Linked DNA regions of Homo sapiens: all the other regions are linked to region 3. Evidence: promoter capture Hi-C in human tissues and cell types (Jung and others, 2019). All regions are on one chromosome and are shown on one strand. Each heading gives the region's core, a stretch centred on a gene start or on the middle of the fragment in contact. The rest is flanking DNA. Distances are from core to core; before and after follow the strand shown.

What was found. The method cuts DNA at HindIII sites, captures the fragments that hold promoters and counts their contacts. A contact is called where the count stands out against the background at its distance.
Region 1: a fragment that was not itself captured here is called in contact with the fragment with the promoter of COL6A2 in region 3 in 1 of the 25 tissues and cell types used here (lymphoblastoid cells).
Region 2: a fragment that was not itself captured here is called in contact with the fragment with the promoter of COL6A2 in region 3 in 1 of the 25 tissues and cell types used here (lymphoblastoid cells).

The regions. Positions count from the first base shown.
Region 1 is chr21:46,638,358-46,641,057 of GRCh38, forward strand. All of the region lies in intron 3 of PRMT2 (protein arginine methyltransferase 2), which reads left to right. Among named protein-coding and RNA genes, the nearest start is that of PRMT2, 4.0 kb to the left of the region's middle. The HindIII fragment of the contact is 4,299 bases long and covers 1-2,700 here.
Region 2 is chr21:46,622,527-46,625,479 of GRCh38, forward strand. No RefSeq gene overlaps it. Among named protein-coding and RNA genes, the nearest start is that of PRMT2, 12 kb to the right of the region's middle. RefSeq lists an enhancer at 1,861-2,361. The HindIII fragment of the contact is 7,233 bases long and covers 1-2,953 here.
Region 3 is chr21:46,096,811-46,099,707 of GRCh38, forward strand. COL6A2 (collagen type VI alpha 2 chain) reads left to right here and starts at 1,302. Exons shown (of 28, transcript NM_001849.4): 1 at 1,302-1,363. COL6A2-DT (COL6A2 divergent transcript) reads right to left here and starts at 835. Exons shown (of 2, transcript NR_186433.1): 1 at 662-835. RefSeq lists an enhancer at 1,125-1,419. The HindIII fragment of the contact is 26,496 bases long and covers 1-2,897 here.

The DNA of each region.
Region 1 (2,700 bases), core at 201-2,700, 540 kb after region 3:
CACTGCTACACAGTAGGCATATACCCCATTTTACTTATTCCCTTTTTGTTGGACACTTAAATTGTTTCTAGTTTTTTCTATTTCAAACAATGCTGTAGTGACCATCCGTCTCCATGCCTCTGTGCTCCAGTAATGGCATTGCAGGGTGCAAGGGATTGCAAGTTTCAGTTTTACTGGATAATGATCAGTTGTTCCCCACAATGACTTTACGAGTTCACAGGTCTGTCAGTAGCCCACAATAGTGCTTACTAACACTTGACAGTATCAGACTTTTAAGTTTTGGTCAGTCTCATGGGTTAGAAATGGTATTTTGTTATTTCAATTTTGCTGACTGGTCATGGTAGTATTTCAGTAATACTTGTGTTCATCCTGTTAATACCACCCTCCATTATAGAAGAGATGTCTTATAATGGTAATTTGTGTTTTATCTCTTTTTTTCACACTTGATCAATCTTTTCTTAGGGTTTTATCAATTTTATTTTTATAAAGAACCAATTTTATCTGTGTTGATTTCTCTGTTTTTCTATTTCATTGATTTCTGCTTTTGTCTTTATTTCATTCTGTTGTATTTGGGTTAATTTTTATAACATCTGAGAGGGAAGCTTAGATAATTGATTTTAAACCTTTCTTTAATAGTCTTTAAAGCTATGACTTTCCTCTAATCACTGCTGTAGCTGTACCTCACATATTTAAATGCATTTTCATTCTTCAAAATATTTTCTAATATATTCAATGGAAATTAGAAGTTTTCTGGGCTATTTGAAAGTATGTTGACCAATTTCTAAACATATTGGAAATTTTACTTTTTCTTATTTAATTTTGCTTTGATTACATTGGTTAGAGAACATAACATCCTCTATAATTTCAGTCTTTTGAAATTTATTCAGGCTTGCTTTATGTTCTAATCATATGGAATATGTTGGTGAGTGTTCCATGAGTACTTGCAAAGACTATGTATTCTGCAGTTGTTGAGTGTAGCATTCTATAAATGTCATGAAGATCAAATGTGTTATTAGTATTGTTGAAATCTCTATATCTTTTCTGATTTTTTTTGCCATCTTCTATCAGTTACTAAAAATTCTCCACTATGATTGTAGATATATCTATTTTTCCTTTTGGTTCTATCACTTTTTGCTTTGTATATTTTGAGTCCCTGTTATTGGGTGTATATATTTAGTATAGGTTTTGTTTTCTAGATTAATTGACCTTATTTTTTATAAAACATCTGTCTTTTTACCTGTTAATAAATACTTCTTTTCTTGCGTGTACCTTTTTTTTAATGCTAATATAGCTGTACCAGCTTTTTTTTTTTATCATTAGTGCTTACATAAAGTGTGTGTGTGTGTGTGTTTGTGTGTGTGTGTGTGTGTATTTTTTTTCCCTCAACTTAAGTCCTTATATTTAAAGCGTTTTTCTCGTAAAGAGCTAGTTGGGTCTAGCTCTTAGGTCTGTTTTTTTGTTTCTCTGTTAAACACAATTTCTGCCTCTTAATTGGAGTATTTAGTCTATTAACACTTCATGTTATGACGAATGTGATGAAGTGTAACATTTTGCTGTTTGTTTTATGTTTGTCACATTTCTTTTTCCTGCATGTCTCCATTCCTGCCCTCTTGTGGATAAATAAAGGATTTTCTATAATTCCATATTACCTCCTTTAATAGCTTGTTAGCTGTATCTTTTTATATTGTTTTAGTGTTTTCCCAAGAAATTGCAGTATGCATCCTAATTCAATTTCAGTCTTTTTTTTAACTACTTCATAAGGTAAAGATCTTAGAAGTTAGTTTCATTTACCAGCGTCCATATTTTTGTACTGTTGATGTAACATTTTAATTTTACATATGTTGTAAACGCCACAATAAATTATCATTATTGCTTTACGCTATCGAGTCTTTTTTTATGAAGTAAAATAAATAGTCTTTTTTATGTTTCCCCACATATTATTTGCCTTTTTTGAGGTCTTTCCCTTTTTCTTGCATTCTGTGTTTTCATGTAGGATCATTTCCCTTCAACCTGACAACTTTATGTTTATATTTACTAGTGTGAGTCTGCTGTGTCAAACTATGAAATGTGTTTTGCCTACATTTTTTTTTTTTTTTTTTTTTGAGACGGAGTCTCGCTCTGTCGCCCAGGCTGGAGTGCAGTGATGCGATCTCGGCTCACTGCAAGCTCCGCCTCCTGGGTTCACACCATTCTCCTGCCTCAGCCTCCCGAGTAGCTGGGACTACAGGTGACCACCACCACGCCCGGCTAATTTTTTGTATTTTTAGTAGAGACGGGGTTTCACCATCTTGGCCAGGCTGGTCTCAAACTTCTGATCTCAGGTGATCTGCCCACCTTGGCCTTGATGGTTTTTTTTTTTTAATTTTGGAAAAATCTCCACCATTATCTCTTCATTTATTTTTTTCTGCCTCATCTTCTGTCTTCTTTTTTGGGGTCTCCATGTAAACATAAGTTAGAATTTTTGCTGCTGTTTGACATGTCTCATGCTCTATTCTTATTTTTTTTTTCATTTTGTGCTTCAGTTTGGAAAATTTCTGTTGACCTGACTCTTGAGGCGCTGATCATAAACAAGATAACTGGGAAAACAATATGTTTGTAAAACAATTTCTTGAGATGTGAAATAGTATCTATATTGTACCAAGAGTAGTCCCAGCTACTTGAGAGGCTGAGGTAGGAGGATTGCTTTAGCTTGGGAGGTGG
Region 2 (2,953 bases), core at 1-2,500, 530 kb after region 3:
TCTTGCTCAGGAACTGAGTCTTGGTGAAATATAAGAGGAAGTGTTTGAACTGATGCTGGGGCAAGATCTCAAAAGGAAAACTGAGTTTTCCCTTTTGTAGAACTCTGTCACAGATATTTATTTTGATTATGCTTTTTATAACTTTTAAGGATTCTTGGAAATTTGCAATAAAATCATGTCAGGTTTAAATGTTTAAAAAATCATAGGATTAGCCTATTTGTTTTTTCACTCAACAGGAGTGTTTTTCATTTGACGACTTCAGAAGATCCCACGTCTTACAGCCCGTCCCTTCCTGTAGGACGCTGTGGGCCAGGACAGCACAGTACTCGGCCACATGCCCAAATGAGCAGCCACAAAAGTCTAATCAATCGATTGTTCAAACTGCTTAACTCACATCTGTAATCCCAGCACTTTGGAAGGCTGAGGCGGGCGGATCACTTGAGGTCAGGAGTTTGAGACCAGCCTGGGCAACATTGTGAAACCCTGTCTCTACTAAAAATACAAAAATTAGCCAGGTGTGGTGGCGCATGCTTGTAGTCCCAGCTACTTGGGAGGCTGAGGCAGGAGGATCCCTTGAACTCGGGATATGGAGGTTGCAGTGAGCAGAGATCCTGCTACTGCACTCCAGCCTGGGTCACAGAGATTCTGTCTCAAAAAAACAAAGAAAAACAAACAAACAAACTCTACTTAACAAGTGAGGATGCTCACGCCTTGACTGTAAAAATGCCTGCGTGGAATTGAACCACCTCGACAGCAACGACCCAGGAGGTGGAAATGAGTTGTTTTATTTTAGAGATTTAAATAAAGAACATACCAAACGTATGAGAGAAGAGGAAAGCTGAGAACCTAAAATCTGGACGCTCGGTTGGGCACAGTGGCTCACGCCTGTAATCCTAGCACTTTGGGAGGCCGAGGTGGGCAGATCACCTGAGGTTAGGAGTTCAAGACCAGCCTGGCCAACACGGTAAAACCCCATCTCTACTAAAAATACAAAAAAAATTAGCCAGGTGCCTGTAATCCCAGCTGCTGGAGAGGCTAAGGCAGGAGAATTGCTTGAACCCAGGAGGCAGAGGTTGCAGTGAGCTGAGACTGCACCATTGCACTCCAGCCTGGGCAACAAGAATGAAACTCCGTCTAAATATATAAATATAATTTTAAAAAATCTGGAAGCTCAATCCCTAGCAGTTTTGCTACTGCAGAACAATAACCTCTTTTGCTTTTGAAAAACAAACTTCAAGTTAAAAACACTGTGAATAACCTGGCACTATATTTCAATTTTTAGTGTAACTGGAATACATCCACAGGTATATTTAGCATCTAGTAGTTCTATTGAGTGCTAATGTAAATAAAATTTAAATCATAGGAGGAATAAACTATTTTTGGAATTAAAACTTAAGACAGACTCCATAATAAAATCAAATAATTTGATGTAATTCCTGTAACATATGTACTAACATTAAGTTCAACATTTAAAATTAATTATCTGTTATTGTGTATTAATTTAGAAAATTAATTGCAATCTTCTGAACTCTGCCTTTGGGGCTCCCTGGAACGAGGCCCAGGGGCCGTGTTTGCCTGAGTCGCATGCATGCACCTCCCTTCCCCAGGCGAGGCCCACTTGGCTGCGCGCCTCCCCACAGCGGGGACCATGAGATGCAGAGGCAGACAAGGACAGCGTCTTGGTGATCACAACTTTTAAAACGAAAAACTCAGATGCCCAGGATGAGAGAGCGCACACCCCGTGCTGATGCCCCACCCTGAACTTGCTGCTGCTGTGATGATGGCCACAGAAGGACAGCTGTTCACGGAGCCCTGGCCGAGCTCGCTCTGTCCTCAGCCTGTGCGGCTGGCCAGGTCCCTTGGCCGTAGGAAGGCTCCAGAGGCCTCTTTGGGTAGGAGAGTGTGGGGGATGGGTCAGTTGCTCAGCACACCAAGGAGCCAGGCCTCACAGGGACTCTTTTAGGGTCCCTAGATTTTGCAACTCAAGTGACAACCACTCCTGCCCCTGGAGTGTTGATTTGTGTGCTCCAATGCCCCCCAACATGTTGGCCGTCAGGTGCCCTGCCAGGCCCTGCGTGTTCAGTGTGCTCTGGTTCCTGGGAGGAAGGTAAGACACTGAGTTCTGAACTCTGGAGGTGGAAGGGGGCTCCTTGGACAGTCACCTGATTAAGCACAGCCCTGACCCCATCCTGGTCACAGGGGTGTGAGTCTCCAAGGACAGGGCTCCAGAGCACCGTGTGATAAGTCACATGCAAAGGAAACCTGGGCAATGGCATAAATGAGGACCTCCCCTTAGCAGGGAAAGGAGCTTAGCAGCCTTCGGAGCCTCAGCCTGCATAGGAAACGCATGTTTCTCCATCATGATGGGGGAAACTGAGGCTCAGGTTGTATCACTCAGTGTCAAAGCCAGGATTTGAACCTGGGCCTGCCTCCAGAGTCCAAGTCCCAACCACATGAAATGCTGCTGTCGTGGATCGGAGCAGGAGGAAATGCCCTGCTCTGACTCAAGGAGGTGCTTGGACTCTGCTTGTTTTTGTTTTTGAAACAGAGTCTTGCTCTATTGTCCAGACTGGAGTGCAGTGGTGCAATCTCAGCTCACTGCAGCCTCCTTCTCTAGGGTTCAAGTGATTCTTGTAACTCATCTCCTGAGTAGCTGGGATTACAGACATGCACCGCCACGCCTGGCTAATTTTTGTAATTTTAGTAGAGATGGGGTTTCACCATGTTGGCCAGGCTGCTCGAACTCCTGGCCTCAAGCGATCCACTTGCCTTAGCCTTCCAAAATGTTGGGATTACAGGCATGAGCCACCATGCCCAGCCAGACTCCACTTCCTGATGAAATGGCAAGAGAAGAGCATGTGGGGAGGATTGCAGACCTTGCTATGACCAACTTTGGAAAACACATTCTGCCCTCTGGCTGCACCCCCTACACATGCAAAATAGACTCACCCAG
Region 3 (2,897 bases), core at 52-2,551:
GCTGGCTTGGAAGCAGGAGGCATTGCCCAGGTGAGAGTTCGGCATGGACCCAGGGGAGTGGCACACGGTGCCCGCCGTCAGCTGTGCTCAGGAGCAGCAGGCAGGAGCCCTGGACTCATGGCTACCATGTGGCTGCCACACTCAGGCACACTTAGGCACATACACTCACACTCAGGCACACTTAGACACACACATTCACACTCAACCTCAGACGCAGACACACACCACACACTCACAGATGCACACAGTCTCAGACACAGACACACACCACACACAGATACACACACCACAGACTCAAACTCAGTCTCAGACACAGACACACACCACACACTCAGATGCACACACCACACACACTCAGTCTCAGACACACACACACACCACATTTGCAAACCTGCTCATCAGAAGAGGGACCTCGCCCCCAGCCGCTCCGCCACCTTCCAGGACAGCTCTGAAGGGAGCCCTGTCCCGGAGCCCAGGGACCTCTCCCCAACCCGGCTGCGCCTCACCTCAAGGAGGAACCCCGGCCCTGGCTGGGGGACTGTGACCAGGGTGGGGAGTGGGGACCCCAGACAGAGCCCTACCAGGGACCCCTGTCACTCTGTCCCCGGCTGGGCTCAGGTGGGGACCTCACGGTGGTCCCAGGGCCCAGCACCAAGCCCACCTGTGGTTTCCAGCGGGAAAGGGGTGGCAGGGGTGGCTCGCCGCATGCCCAGGCTCTGCCCCAACCTCCGCGCCCAGGCTCTGCTGTCCCTGCCCTCCCGGCTCCCCACCCTCAGGCCCCAGGAGCGGCAGTTTCTGCAGGAGCTCCTGACCCGGGGCCTCTCGCGGGAGGCCTGAGCAAGCCGGACACAGGACACGGGGTAGGGGAGGGGTCGGGGGGCTGATGGGGGGAACCCTGCACCCCCCAGGGCAGCTGCTACCAAGGGGCGAGTCCCAGGGCCCCCGTCGGCCCTGCGTGCGGGGCGCGGTCCCCAACACCCAGGGCCCCGGAGGCGGACACAGCCCCAGCCAGGTCGTCCGGGAAATGGGGCGGGGGCGACGGGCGGCCGGGCCCGGGACGCGAAGTCCGAGCAGCAGCGGGCAGGGGCTGGCGGGGGAGCTCGGCCCGGGCTGCAGGGGGGTCCCCACCCTCTCCACCTCCTCCAGCCTCCCGCCCTCGAGGGTCCCCGCTTCCCTCCCATCCCCCTCCCGTGCCCCCGGCCCCCTCCTCCCATCCGCGGGGCCGCAGCGCTTCCTGGCGGCGGGGCGGGTCAGGCCGGCGGGGCGGGGTATAAAGGGGGCGGCGCCGGCCGCGGTTCCCTCCCTGCTGCTTACTCGGCGCCCGCGCCTCGGGCCGTCGGGAGCGGAGCCTCCTCGGGACCAGGTGAGCGCCTCCCGGACCCCGCACCCTGGAAGCCGCTCGGCCCGCGGGGGGTGACCCCGAGTCCTGGGAAGGCGGCGGCGGCGGCTCCGTCCCTCGGGTCCCCGGGAAGGGGGACTCCAGCCCCAGGGACGGCGGGGGGCTCGGCGGGTTCGGGGCTCCTCCTCGCGGGGCTGGGGCCGCGCCTGCCCCTGTGGCTCCGCGTCTCTGGGTCCGACCCTCGGGCGCGCGACTTGGGGCCACCTCCCCGCGGCCTCCTCTGGGGCGGAGCCGGCCTGGGCGGGGTGGGGGGGTCCCTGTCTGCGCCCGAGCTCGGTGCTGGGACCCCCGCTCCCGAGACGACCCCGGCACCGCACGCCCCGCCAGGCCCCGCGTCTGCGAGCGGTTCGGGTCCGGCTCCGGCCCGCGGGGAAGACGCCCCGGCTGGCTGGGACCTCCGGGGGCGCAGGGCCTCTCCCCGGGCCGGACGGAAGGGGCGGCGGGGCGGGGGGAGGAGGGGCTTTCGGTGCCCGAGGGCGGGACTGGGCGGGGAGGGGACGCGGGTGGCCCCGACGCCCCATCGCTGCGCCCCTCCCGGCCTGGAGCCCACCAGGGCCCCGCCAGGCCCAGGAGAAGCTGCAGACGGAGGCGGCTCCCCAGGGCGGCGGGACCCGGGCTGACAGCGACCCGCAGCCCCTGCCGGGCCGCCCACACCCGCCCTGGGACTCCGCCGGGGCGCTGGTGGAACCGCTGGGCCTGGGTCTCCACTGCTGGCAACCGAACGGATCGGCCCTCTGTGGAGCCGCAGGTGTGCGGGCGAGCGGCGCCCATCCGGGCTGTGCCAGCAGAACCCCGGTGCCCGCGCCTAGGACGCCCCTGGAGAAGGGACCTTCCCTTTGGGGTCGGAACCCAGAAAGGAGGGGCCTGCGATCCGCGGAGCTCCTTGTTCTTGGGATAACACAGCTCTGGCTTGGAGGCCCCCTTGCACTTCGACTCTGGTGATTATTTCAAGAAAGGCCAGACCGGGCACGGTGGCTCACGCCTGTAATCCCAACACTTGGGGAGGCCGAGGCGGGCAGATCACCTGAGGTCAGGAGTTCGAGACCAGCCTGGCCAACAGGGTGAAACCCCGTCTCTACTAAAAATACAAAAAAAAATTAGCCGGGCGTGGTGGCAGGCACCTGTAATCCCAGCTAATCGGGAGGCTGAGGCAGGAGAAAATCACTTGAACCTGGGAGGCGGAGGCTGCAGTGAGCTGAGATCGCGCCACTGCACTCCAGCCTGGGTGAGGGAGCGAGACTGTCTCAAAAAAAAAAAAAAAAAAAAAAAAAAAGGAAAGAAAGGCCCGGTGAGATGCTTTCTCTTAAACACGGCCCTGCACGTTGAGTTGCTGCCTCCTGTGGCCTATTTCACGTTTATGCAAAGTCGGGCGCCTGATGCGGGGCTCACCCGCCACAAGCAGGGGTCCTGGTGCTGCTCATGGAAGGGGCCCTACCCAGCCCGCGGGGCACTGGCTGGGACGGGGCTGCCCAGGTCCGCCCAGGATCCAAACACCCAG